2 separate regions of the Homo sapiens genome follow, and region 1 is linked to region 2. The links are contacts of gene promoters, found by promoter capture Hi-C in blood cells and fetal thymus (Javierre and others, 2016). All regions are on one chromosome and are shown on one strand. The core of a region is centred on a gene start or on the middle of the fragment in contact, and the rest is flanking DNA. Distances in the headings are between cores, read along the strand shown.

Evidence for each region. The method cuts DNA at HindIII sites, captures the fragments that hold promoters and counts their contacts. A CHiCAGO score of 5 or more calls a contact.
Region 1: a fragment that was not itself captured here is called in contact with the fragment with the promoter of ST8SIA6 in region 2 in 2 of 17 cell types (erythroblasts and megakaryocytes); the score reaches 6.2 in erythroblasts.

Annotation. Positions count from the first base shown.
Region 1 is chr10:17,285,141-17,292,168 of GRCh38, reverse strand. No RefSeq gene overlaps it. Among named protein-coding and RNA genes, the nearest start is that of VIM-AS1, 59 kb to the right of the region's middle. The HindIII fragment of the contact is 503 bases long and covers 1,627-2,129 here.
Region 2 is chr10:17,451,333-17,458,240 of GRCh38, reverse strand. It overlaps ST8SIA6 (ST8 alpha-N-acetyl-neuraminide alpha-2,8-sialyltransferase 6), which reads left to right and starts at 3,646. Exons shown (of 8, transcript NM_001004470.3): 1 at 3,646-4,086; 2 at 4,584-4,682. The coding sequence starts at 3,986. The HindIII fragment of the contact is 5,030 bases long and covers 1,027-6,056 here.

The DNA of each region.
Region 1 (7,028 bases), core at 629-3,128, 160 kb after region 2:
AGCCCTCATAGAAACACACAGCATATTTTAATATATTAACATATATTAACTGGCTTGATTGTGGCAATCAATTCACAAAATAAACTTATGCAAAACATCATATTGTACTCTTTAAGTATTTGCAATTTTTTTGAAGAAAGGGTCTTGCTCTGTTGCCCAGGCTGGAGTACAGTGGTGCTATCATGGCTCACTGCAGCCTCCACTTCTCCAGGCTCAAGTGATCCTCCTACCTCAGCCTCACAAGTAGTTGGGACTACAGTTGATGCCACCACACCTGGCTAATTTTTTGTATTTTTTTTTTCAATAGAGACAGCATTTCACTATACTGCCTAGGCTGGTCTTGAACTTCTGGGCTCAAGCAATCTGCCCACCTTGGCCTCTCATAGTGCTAGGATTATAGGCATGAGCCACTGCACCTGGTCACAATTTTTATTTGTCAATCAACAAAGTTTTATTTGTCTCATTAAAGCTGGGGGAAAAAAACTCACGTGGTTGCCAACACTCCAGTCTGAGCAGGAACATAGGAGGAGGGGACTTACTTAGAAGAAGGATACTATGAGGTCTAAGCAGACACCGTAAGGAGATATTCTACAACCACTATCTTAAAAATAAGAAAGCAGAGACATTGAGAAGGCGAATAATTTATCCAAAGCTGCTAAAAAGAGGAGAAGCCAGCAAGAATTCAACTCGGGTCTGTGTGACTCCTAAGCCCATATCGTTAAGCTTTGCTCTCAGCTTCCTGTAAAGCATTCACCGCAGTTCTTTGAATCACCATCTTCTCATTTTATTATCTGAATTCAGATACATACAACTCCTAAGTAAATGAATAATCCATGATCATCATAATCCTCAACTCCTTTAGAAATGTTAATAAATTTTCAGTTAACCTGTCTTCTCCTTAAGGATTTATCCAACATGAATACACACTGGAGAAATAAGTAAGATTTTAAAAGCCTTACTATTAATTTATTTTCCCACTAAATCCAGTGGATTTCCCAGAAGTTGAATCTTCTGGGAAAAAATGTTTAACTCATTGATAGGCAGAAATGAGAGACCCATTGAGTAGATAATATGGTTCCTCCGGAGGTGACTTTTTTTTTTTCTTTGAGATAGGGTCTCACTCTGTTGCCTAGGCTGGAGTGCAGTGGTGCTATCTTGGCTCACTGCAACCTCCGCCTCTCCTGCCTCAGCCTCCCGCGTAGCTGGGATTACAGGCACTTACCACCACCCCCAGCTAATTTTTGTATTTGCAGTAGAGACAGGGTTTCACCATGTTGGCCAGGCTGGTCTCAAACTCCTGGCCTCAAGTGATCTGCCTGACTCAGCCTCACAAAGTGCTGGGATTACAGGTATGAGCCACCACACCCGGCTGACATTTTTAAAATCTTAAGGCCTGCTATTAGTTGTAGTTAGAGCCTTGTAATTCTTCTTCATAACTAAAATAATGGAACGCCCCTTGAACCAGCTGGTGTCTTAGTTATGACACTTCTGTTCTGCAAGAAGTGAAGGTGAATGGATGGCAAAATGTTTTCTGCTATCAGAAAATAAAGATTTTATGATTCTGAGAAAACAAAAAGTAGTAAGAGCAATTCCTGGTGAAAGATTCTGTGCAAAAATGGGTAAGCTTTTAATCTTACCGGAAGAGGAGTGATTCCGCTCTGTAGTGCTTGAACCTGTCTAAATGGAAAAAGGCTGTCACATAAAATCAGCATGAATTCATACACGCAATGGCTTTTTGATGTGGATTGACTATCCTGTAGGGCCCTCTAGGGACTGAACTGTAATCTCCAAAACTCGTTTCAATCAGACCCGAGAACCAGAGGTGAAACCACAGTGTTCAGGTGACCCACGTCTTCAGCTCAATCTTGCCTTCAAGAGATTTTCTGAAATATGTCATTTGACTTCATTCACTAGGTACAAAACTAATATTTGAGAGAGGAAGGAAAAGGGGCATCGTCATATTTTCTTAAAGGATTATTTATTTTAGCATAGAGTAGCTATCAGGGAACCGAAGTTTCATAATCACCACTATCTAATAACCTGCACTGTGGCTAAATCAGATTTGCTCTTCTCCTGAAATGAAGGATTAGCAGAATTGCAGGTGCTGAAATGGCAATTTAATAGAAGCTTCTATTTTCTACAATTTAACAGAGGTGAGAACGGTTGGCACGCATGGGACAGTGGAATGCATAATGCTGACAGCCCTGTAGAAATGCACCTGCTCTAATGGTTGATTCTTTCTCATTATACACAGAATGCTATTCACAAGCTATCAACTACAGAGAGTCAAAATATTAGATCGCAACCACAGGACACATTAAAAGTTAAACCGGCTGGGCGCGGTGGTTCACGCCTATAATCTCAGCACTTTGGGAGGCTGAGTCGCGCAGATCACGAAACGAGGTCAGGAGATCGATACCATCCTGGCTAACACGGTGAAACCCCGTCTCTACTAAAAATACAAAAAATTAGCCAGGAATGGTGGCGGGCGCCTGTAGTCCCAGCTACTCAGGAGGCTGAGGCATGAGAATGGCGTGAACCCGGGAGACGGAGCCTGCAGTGAGCCGAGATTGCGCCACTGCACTCCAGCCTGGGCAACAGAGCAAGACTGCGTCTCAAAAAAGAAAAAAAAAAAAAAAACAAGCTCTCCAGATTGCTAAATGGTGACTTGGGCTGATAGTTATTTTCAGCTTTTGATTTTCAAAGCTTTCTGAGGGTGCTTTGGGTTGCTCACAGGTCAATGTTCCTCTTCTTTTTGTTTTACAGGGAAATAAAATTCTCACCTCCTGGGTGTGGGGACAATTTTTCATCCTCAAAAAATTAGGTGGCAGGGAATAGTGGAGATCTTCCAGCTTGCTCAGGATTCAACTTGTAAAGCCTCCAGTATTCATAAATTTCAGCTCATGTGATCTTTATTGTAGACAATTTAAAAAATTCTAGCCTGGATCTCTTTTATGAAGTGGGTCTTCCGTGCTATAAATGATTTAGTGGGAACTCAAAAATATTTATTGGTTCATAATTTCATAAATGTGGTGCAAGTGACTGGGGAAAACGAAAAAGTAGTGCTTCTTTTAACATAAAATAACACTCGATAAAAAGTTAGTTCTTCTCTCCATTCTCAGGCTAGACATTAATCCCATGGTGTTCTTGGCATTCTGAAATACAGTAATCCAAAGGAAATATTTCTTTCTTTCCATGCACATATGTATGTTTGAATGAATGTAAGCTACCTTCTGTGTTTTCAACTGATTCTGAATTACTGGCAAAATAGCAATGGTAGTGCCACCAGAAGCCATTTGATCAGCATGAGTAATAGTGATACCAGGTTATAAAAAAGAATTATGACTTCTTCCCATTTATCTTTTTTCCATGAGGTCTTCAGGGTGGCAGCTCTTAACCAGTAGTTCAAAAGAGCAACGTTTACATTTTGATTTAAAAAGAAAAAATAGTAACTCTCCACCCAAACAATACTGACCCAATATTACAAAAAGAGATTGTTGAGAAGAGAGATTATTTAGACTTGACCTGGTATGCCTAGCAGCAGCCTCTTTTTTGCATATTAGTATTATACTAACTTGAATTTGGTTTATTCAAACTAGAACTGTTTATCAAATGACTTTTGTAGTCTGTGTCACCTGTACATACAGCTTGAATCCTTAAAAGGTGCAGGGTAAATGTATACAAATTTACCTATAAAAGGTGCATGGTAAATGTACACAAATTTACCTATAAAAGGTGCATGGTAAATGTGTACAAATTTACCTATAAAAGGTGCATGATAAATGTATACAATTAATGTCATACATGCATAGTAGCAGGTGGAGTGTTGCACAGAGTGGATGAGAAATGCGTTACGGAGTGAGTACCTGCCCCTGCAAATGATTGGTCTCACTTAGCTTCATGTCGCTGTCAAGGAAGGAAAAGCATTTAGGAAGCGAGTGAACACTTGAACTCCTGAGTAAACAAGAGAAGGCTGTCAGGATAGGAGACTGTTGTATTCAAAAGATGCTAAGGGCAATTAATTGCGGAAGCCGAGGAAACCCTCAATTTCACACCATGATGTATTCAAGAAATAATTATTACTGTGGAAGTCCATTTCTGACCATTCGTTTTGTGTTATGTGAACCCAAAAGTATCTGAGACATATCTCAATCAATTTAAAAAGTTTATTCTGCCAAGGTTAAGGACATGCCCGTGACACAGCCTCAAGAGGTCCTGAAAACATGTGCCCAAGGTGGTCAGTGAACAGCTTGGTTTTATACTTTTTTTTTTGAGACACAGTCTCGCTCTGTCGCCCAGGCTGGAGTGCAGTGGCACAATCTTGGCTCACTGTAACCTATGACTCCAGGGTTCATGCCATTGTCCTGCCTCAGCCTCTCAAGTATCTGGGACTACAGACACCCGCCACCACGCCCGGCTAATTTTTTGTATTTTTGGTAGAGACACAGGTTCACCGTGTTAGCCAGGATGGTCTCGATCTCCTGACCTCGTGATCCGCCCTCCTCAGTCTCCCAAAGTGTTGGGATTACAGGCGTGAAACCACCGCACCCGGCCGGTTTTATACATTTTATGGAGACATGAGACGTCAGTCAATATGTGTAAGATGAATACTGGTTCGCTCTGGAAAGGTCGGACAACTTGAAGCCAGGAAGCGGGCTGCCGTGTCATAAGTAGTTAACAGAAAATCGGTTGCATTCTTTTGAGTCTCTGATTAGCCTTTCACTGAATACACAATCTACCTGTGAGATGACAGTAGAGGAATAGTCACTCAAGCCTTAGTGTGGCTCAGTGAAACAAAAGGGCAGAGAAAGCTATCAGATATGCATTTGCCTCACATGAGCAGAGGGATGACTTTGAGTTCTGTGTGTCCCTTGTCCACAAGGAATTTCCTTGTGGGCAAATTGTGAGGGAGGGAGGTATCTTGTTTATCTTTGTAGCTTTGTTATTTAGGAATCAAATGGGAGGCAGCTTTGCCTGATGCGGTTCCCTGCTTGACTTTTCCTTATGGCTTAGTAATTTTGGGATCCTGAGATACGAGTCTCTAGGTCCCTCCAAGTACGTCCTAGATTTGCAAACTTGCAAGAATAAATCAGACATGGATCCTATGCTCAAGAATGCCACACACTAGTTAGGGAAATAAAATATGTAAGAAGCAATTCTAATAAAGCCTGGAAGTGAGCCACAGCATGTGAGAAATAGAGGGGGATAGCTCAGCTGTGCTGTGCAGACTTTCCTGCGGATCCTCCGGGAGGAGACCTGCTGTGGGGAGTGGAGTTAGCTAAAGAGCTCCACTGGCCACACCTCCAGGACCCACTGCAGACTTCAGCCAGGGCCATACACTCTCTGGGTTGCTCCCAGTCAGTAAGGATGGGACACCTGAGCCAAACCATTCTGCTCCAGTGCAGCACTCTAACAATCTTTGCTCCAGGGCACTCCATCATCCTGGCCAGGCTTTCTCAGAGCTGCACTGGAATCTGAGGTTCTTCCTGACACCTCCTCCTCCCTCTTCTTTCACAGGTGTCAGACTGCAAGCCTGGTCTGGAAGCTTTGCCGACTCTTGTTCCTCCTCTCCTTTACCTTCTACAGGGGATTCCAATTCCCCTAATAAATTTCTTGCATGTGTTATTCTATATTGATATCTCTTTCCTGGATGACATGAACTGATACTGAAAGCTAAAGTCTTTGAAGGTTCAGAAAAGTGATCAGTTTTCATTCATTTGCAGAGATTAGGAAAGAAGACAAAGATAAGGGAACATTTGAGCTGGGCCTCTCTATGAGGCAGATGGGAGTAAAAGTATAACAGTCTTTAGCACATTTAAAAATATGAAATGGTTTATATTAATGAATGAATTCTAAGACCATTCTTTGAGACTGCCATAGTGGTGCTCCATTGATTTCAATACCAACTGGTATGATTTGGATCTGTATCCCCTCCCAAATCTCATGTCGGATTATAATCCCCAGTGTTCGAGGTGGGGCCTGGTGGGAGCTGCCTGGATCATGGGGTGGATCCTTCAAGTATGGTCTAGCACCATCTTCTAGGTGCCGCTCTCATAATAGTGAGTGAGTTATCACAGGATCTGGTTGTTTAAAAGTGTGTACCTCCGGCTGGGCATGGTGGCTTATGTCTGTAATGCTAGCACTTTGGGAGGCCGAGGAGGGTGGATCACGAGGTAAGGAGTTCGAGACCAGCCTGACCAACATGGTAAAACCCCGTCTCTACTAAAAATACAAAAATTAGCCGGGCGTGGTGGTGTGCGCCTGTAATCTCAGCTACTTGGGAGGCTGAGGCAGGAGCGTTGCTTGAACCTGGGAGGCAGAAGTTGTGCTGAGCTGAGATCGTGCCATTGCACTCCAGCCTGGGCAATAACAGCGATACTCCGTCTCAAAAAAAAAAAAAAAAAAAAGTGTGTACCTCCCTCCCCCTTTCCCTTCTCTCTGGTCCTGCTCTGGCCACATAAGATGTGCCTGCTTCCTCTTCACCTTCCGCCACGATTGTAAGTTTCCTGAGGCCTCCCCAGAGGCAGAAGTCATCATGGTTCCTGTACAGCCTGCAGAACCATGAGTCAATTAAACTTCTTTTCTTAAGCTGGGCTCAGTGGCTCACGCCTGTAATCCCAGCACTTTGGGAGGCTGAAGTGGGTGGATTACTTGAGGCCAGGAGTTTGAGACCAGCCTTGCCAACATGGTGAAACTCTGTCTCTACTAAATATACAAAAAAATTAGCTGAGCATGGTGGCAAGTACCTGCACTCCCAGCAACTAGGGAGGCTGAGGCAGGAGAATCACTTGAACCCGGGAGGTGGAGATTGCAGTGAGCCTGCAGTAAGCCGAGATCACAAGACTGCACTCCAGCCTGGGTGACAGAGCGAGACTCCATCGCAAATATATATATATATAAAATAAAGCTCTTTTCTTTGTAAATTACCCTGTCTCAGACTACTACACCAACTGTAGCAAAATTCATCATTGGGATTCCATGACATCTCTTTCCCACCAGGTATTCTAGCAAATGGCTTACCTTGACCC
Region 2 (6,908 bases), core at 2,397-4,896:
AAACAAATATATGTATATATAGTTTCTATACATTTATATTATATACATAATATATAATCATGTATATACACAATATAATATAATATACATAATATATATACATAATATTATATAACAATTTGCATATGCATAATTATATGGAATGTATATGCATAGTATATATATACATAATGTATAATGTATATATACATACATATATAGTATAATGTATCTAGTGTGTATATATACATTATATATTATATATGTAGTATATATTATGTATATATGTAGTATATACTATGTATATAATATATACATAATATGTATACATAATACGTATGTGTATACATAATGTGTATACACAATATGTATATAATGCTATATATTCTGTACATTATGTATTATGTATATAGTGTATATACATATATATTATGTATATATCAAATGTCAGGTAGACTCTTGATATTTGTGATTCATCTTTCTGAATCCCCAAATCCACACTTATGGAAATCTTACACGTTTCTAGCTTTCCCCTGAATCATCTTTTTTGTGGAAAGTCACTTGTTAGCCAAATAAGAAACCTTACACTCCAAATCAGAAACTTCAACTTTCAAGATTTCCATAGGCCTGGAGACTTTTTATATATCGAAACTTCCCAATCATTTTTTAAAAGTTATTTTATGAAGGTAAGGACATTCATGATGATGAATAAAGAATAACAAAGACAAAATGAGAGGCCCATGTGGAGTGGACTGGGTGAGTGAGGTAGGCTCGCCACTTACACAAGCTTGGGAGCAGCATCCGGATGTCAACCTGAGTTTACGTTTCAATTCCTGGCCTCAGCAGCATTTCAAATTACTACATGGCATAGATCTTTAGGGTTGCAAGTCAAGCCTGGAAATGTTAAGCTACCAAATGCACACTTTTCCAGTAGTGGTTCTATGGCTAATAATGTTAAGGTATCATTTTCTTGTCAGGTTTCTTTCTCTCTCAAGGATGAGCAAGATAATTCATATCTTACCCACCCAGGTCTTAAATTAGAAAGCTTGTGGTAAAGTTCCCTACTGTCAAATTTTAACACTGGGCTCAGAATTCCCATTGCAAATTTACACTTGTTTTTCCAATTAAAATGGGCTTTTGTGAGTCCCCTGCTGATAGCCATTGGCTTGATAAAAAGTAACTTCATTTGCAGCAAGGGTGTTTAGGGAACCCAGTGCAAGGCTGACTCTTCTGCTGTTGCCTTGAGCCCAGCTGTGCTGAAATATTAAACTTTAGTAAATTAGGTGAAATTGCAGCTTCCTGGCTGATACAATAATGCCTTTTTCTTTTTCTGCAAACCATGTTCAGCATTAGTTTTCTGCACAATTTTCTGCACTGAGATAAAAATTGGAATATCTTTCAAATCCAGGCAACTCTTCATTTTCTAGATGATTGTGCCATATTCTACTTATTTAACAAACGGCTTAAACTTTGAAATATGTAGAACTAGATTTCTGTATTATTCTATCACTACCTGAGTATAGCATTACTTTATGTCATACTCAGATGAAGCAACTGAATCCCTACAAATATTAGTTTTATATAAAAGTAGAAGCCTGTTTTTATTCCTGATTAGTACATATATTAACAGCAGTGATGAGCTATAGAAGGAAATCACATTCCTAGTCACATTTATTTTTAGTTTTTTTGCTCCATTTTCTCTTTAAAAATAACACTAGTTCTTATGTGCTTTTATTCATTGACTAAACATTTATTGATCAATTATTATGTGCAAACTTCTGTTTTGTATTCAACAAGATGTTTTTAGAGTAAATCCGGAATTAGCAGAAAGAGACTAGGGACACTGGTATCTCTTGCCTTGATATATGTTTTCTTGTGATGGAATCTTTGGTGACAGCTTTATTTGGCTGTCTGGCCTGGTTGCTCCCAAATGGCTCTCACTTGGGCCTCTTTCAGGTGAAGACCATATGCTTCTAGGAGATGTCAGTTGAAATATCATATTTTTGTTGCTTGGGAAAGTTAACTCATGAAAGCCTTTTCAAAATTGAAGTCATTTCAAAAGATCTTATCAAGGTACTCCCAAGATGGTGGAATCCAAGGGTTGCATTTGGAAAAATCTCGAAACTATACAAAAGTAAGAGTGAATAATTTTATAAGCCTGCATATAACCACAATGGAATTAAAACCTAGGGAAGTGGCTAAGTGGGGGCTTGGGCAGTCAGGATAGTTTAGGGCATAGAGAGTTGAGACCCACTTTTAAAAAAATAGAGAGCCAGTCTGTTTCATAGTGTCATTGGATCACTCTCCTGCAACAGATGAGATACTCGTAAATGAGATACTAACCAATATGATCTAGACCGTGGTTTAGTTCTGGCTGCCATAAGAAGGATACCATAGGCTGGGTGACCGAAAGAACAGAAATTTATTTTTCACAGTTCTGGAGGGTAAGAAACCCAAGATCAGTGTGCCAGCATGGTCAGGTTCTGGTGAGGGTCCTCTTCCTGCTTGGCAGAAAGCTGCCCTCGTGCTGTGTCTTTACACTGCACAGAGCAGAGAGAGAGGAGGCAAATTCCCCGCTGCCTGCTCTTATGAGGGAACTAATTCCACCAGGAAGCCTCCACCCCATGAACTAATCAGGTATGAAAGGCCCCACCTCCAGATACCACCACATTAGATTGGGGATTTGGGTTTCAACATATGAATTTTGTAGAGACACAAACATTCAGCCCATAGCAGTGTTAAAAGAAAAACATCAGACAAATTAAATTTAGCACAGTTTATTCGAGCAAAGGGTTCATGAATTGGGCAGCACTCACAACCAGAGGAGGTCCAGTGAGGTCCACCCCATGGTGTGAGCAGCAAAGCCTGATAGGCCAAACTCAGAAGCACAGTGGAGAAACTGATTGGCTATAGCTATGCAGGCTGCCTTGTGGGGCCTGGTATAATGAGTTGGTTGCCCATGATTGGCCAGTAGCCCCCTGTTCATTACAGCCTAATGTAGGTTTCCATTGTTAGGTGGGAACTCAACGTACAGAGACAGCCTCAAGCTAATGGCCTCTTGCTTATTTAAGAGCAGTATGCAAACTTTTCCTGGAAAGTTTCAAATGGTAAATATTTTAGGCCCTGTGGGCTATGCCACCTCTGTCATCACTACTCAATTCTGCCCTTGCAGCCCTAGATCATACAGCCATATGCAGTCACTGATAATACAAAGCCATGGGCATGGAGGTTTTCCAATAAAACTATTTGCAAATACAGGCAGGGGCTAAACGGGTCTCCAGGTAGTAATGTGCTCATGCCTAAAGGTCTCCTAGCCCCTCATACCAGTTCGCTGTCCCTCTGAATCTGGGTTGAAGTAAGCACAGGTTACTGCTTCTGTTCAGTGTCATGATCCACCCAGCAATTCCCCAGTCCCCAGCTTTCTTCATGCGTGGGAGGATCCAGCCAAGCGACTGCACAGTTTTGAAAGTTTTTGAAGCGGCCCCTTTTTCTCCTCTCCTCTCTCCGCAGGCAGAGTTGTGGTGTGGCTGGGTGGTCTGCGTGGGCGTCCGGGGGATTCGCGGGCACTCGGGACGAGGCGAGGGCGCAGAAAACTTGGAGCCCAATCAGCACGGAGTTGAGCTTCCGCGCCCCAACCTTCAGGTGACCCCGCGCGGCGGCGGCGGCAGCAGCAGTGGCAGCGGCGACCGGAGCCCGCAGCAGCTCCGAGCGCCTCCGGGAGGACAGGCGGCGAGCTCGGCGAATCGTCATCTGCCAGCCGATCGCGGCGCTCCGCGGGCCGGGGCCGGGAGCCCGGGGCGAGCCCGAACGCGGCTTCTTCTCCGCCCGCCGCGGAGACTCTGCCGGGTGGGCTGCGGGCGCCCCTCGCTGCCGCCTGTGAACGCTGTGGGTGCGCGGGGCTGCGGCCACGGCGGCGGTGGCGGCGGCGGCGGGAGCCGCGAGTCGGGGCCGCCCGGGCTGTGCTTCGCCCCGGCAGCAGCGGTGGCGGCGGCGCCTGTGGCTCAGGATGCGGCCGGGGGGCGCACTGCTCGCCCTGCTCGCCAGCCTGCTGCTGCTGCTGCTGCTGCGCCTGCTCTGGTGCCCGGCAGACGCGCCCGGCCGCGCCAGGTAACCCACCCACCCGCCGGCCGCGCCCCGCGCCGCGCGCCCCGCCTGGCGCCCCCGGACCCCCAAGCCGCCCATCGCTTCCCCTCGGGCGCGGAGACTTTTGGCCGCGGCGGGGAGCAGCCCACGGGCGGCGACGGCCTGAGAGTGGAGTGGGGGAGGGGGTCGCAGGGAGGCGACCCTCCGACCGGTGGACGGCGGCTGGGGAGCAGAGGGACCGGTCAGGGCTGCGGGGGCTCTAGCGCGCATCGCTGTGGGCGAGGCAGCTGTGGAGCGGGACCTGCCGTCGGGTTCCGCATCAGGATCTCATGCTCCCCATTCTGGTCCTTGCTGTCTCTTCCTTCCCGCCCTAAGGCTCTTCCAACTCTGGGGCTGGGGACCTGGCCTGGGAGCCGGGGAGTGCGAGATCTCCCTGCCAGGCAAGGAGCGCGACTCCCAGCCTTTCAGCCAACAGCTCCCGGCGGGGTGTAGCAACTTAAGTTTTCTCCCCGGCTGTGCAGGATTCTGGTGGAGGAAAGCAGGGAGGCCACCCACGGCACCCCCGCAGCGCTGAGGACGCTCCGGAGCCCGGCGACCGCGGTACCGCGCGCCACTAACAGGTACAGCGGCGCCCAGCGCGGGCGGACTGGGGCTCGGGAGCTGCGAGCCGGGCATGGGGCGCGGCTGCACCGGCTTGGACTCGTTGGGAGTAGGCAGGCTGGGACGGCGCGAGTGAGTGTAAGAGTGTGCGTGTGTTTGAAGAGGGCGCGGGGTTGGGGGGGGGCACCCTTCACACTCCCTCAACCCTCTAAGCCTGGATGTGAATGGTCTTTGAATCAAGGGGGATCCTCCAGCAGCTGCATTTGAAAAACGGGTGCTGAGTTTTCCTCTCGACAATGGTGTGTTGAAAGCACCCCCGCCCCCGACCCCGCCACCTTTGGAGAGAAGCAGCTCAGCCTGTCTTTATGGAGGGATTTGGTTGGTTTGCTTTTTCTTTTCTATGCTTTAAAGGGCACCGGTGTTAAGATTCAGGTTTGTTTTGCGTGCTAGGAATGATTTTGTCCTTAGTGACTGGAGGCTTAAATTTTTTTTCTTATCATTCACATGTGTTTTTATTCATAGGCAGTAATTGTTTTTTTTTCAGATTGTAAAAGTAATACAGCTTTGTGCAGAAAGTTAGAAAATAGAACTGTATAAAAGAAAATGTTATTCATTCAGAGTCCTTACCTCTCAGAGACCATATTCAAGGTGGTTTTGGTCTATATTTCTTCCAGTAGTCTTTTCTATATACATATATTTCAAAAATATAACTTAGATTATACATTGCAGTTTATGTTCTGCCTTTTTTCTAAAAATCCTAGACCTATACCTGTCATTACATTCCCCTCCCCCCACAAAAACATTGCTTTGGATTGTTGCATAACTTATTATCTGAACATGCCATAATCTATTTAATAGTTTCCATTTTCAGACATTTAGGTTGCTTCTTGTTTCTGTTTTATTTTGTTTGCCATCAGTAATTCTATGAAATGCATCCTTGTATGTAAATCTTTATCTTCATTTCAAATTAATTACCCAAGATGGACAGACAGGAGTTGAGATTAGTAAGTCAAAGAGTATGTACTCTTTAGATTCTAAGTCACATTGTCAGTTGCTTCCTCGAAGGGCTGAATCAATTTACATTTTCACAAGCAGAATGTACTGCTTCCTGCCTTAGCATTGCTATTATGATTGCAATCTGCTATACGGTCTCTTTTCCTCTTTTTATCTCTTGCAAATCCCTTTTCTTCTGCGTATGCTTCTCTATATTCTTGGCTCTTGGATCCACCTTAATCTTCTGATGGTGTAACTCCAGGAAGCTCTAGCACGGCTCTAAGAAGGGTCTGGAAGTGGCTGGATAAACCCTGAATTGAGGAACACCACTGCCTGCCACCCCCTCATTGGAATTTCACAGCATATTAGAGGCACTAGGACCTCCTGGAGTAACAAAAGCTTTTGAGAAAAATAGTGTCCTATAGTTTTATTCTATTCAGGTTGGTGTACTATAGGTAGCCTAGCTTTCTTGATGAGCTGAGAAGCATTCCATCTTTTCCCGAGTCCTGTGGCTATTACACATTCGAGGGTTGACCCTTGGGGAAAGTTGGAAAGAATGTACTCATTAAATGGTTTGATCTCAGGTCGTTTTTAGAGGTAATCTTTGATGAATTTTTCACTTTCTTTTGACATACTTCTTTTCTACTTGGCATACTTCTTGGGCTAATATAGGTAACTCATAATTCTGAATATGGCCCATTTTATTAAGCTTTCTAAAATTTATACCATTCTGTGTTTGTAAAAGCCTCTTTATGTTTTGATTTATTTTATGTCCCCTTTATCATTTATGATTTTGGTTATTTATGGAGCAGGGGTGCAAGTTTTAATCCACCATACTACTTGGTTGTATAGAGAAATTGTAATTTCTTCATTTTTCTGGAGCTGGTCTGATCTTCCCACATGAGCCTCATGGTAATAATGCTGGTAGGAATAAGGAGAGCCAACAGTTAATGAACTCTTCTTATGGGCCAGACACTGATCTAAGCACTTGACATTTTTAATTTAAAAATTTTTCAAAATAGGTTTAGGGGGTAAAGTGCATTTTTGTTACATGGATATATTGCCTAGTGGTGAAGTCGGCATTTTAGTGCAACCGTCACCCAAATAGGGTGTACTCATTGTACCCAATGGATAATTTCTCAGCTCTCCCCTCACTCTCACTCTCCCACCTTTCTGTGTCTCCAGTGTTTATTATTCCACAATCTGTGTCTATATGTACACATTATTTAGCTCCTATTTATGAGAACATGTGG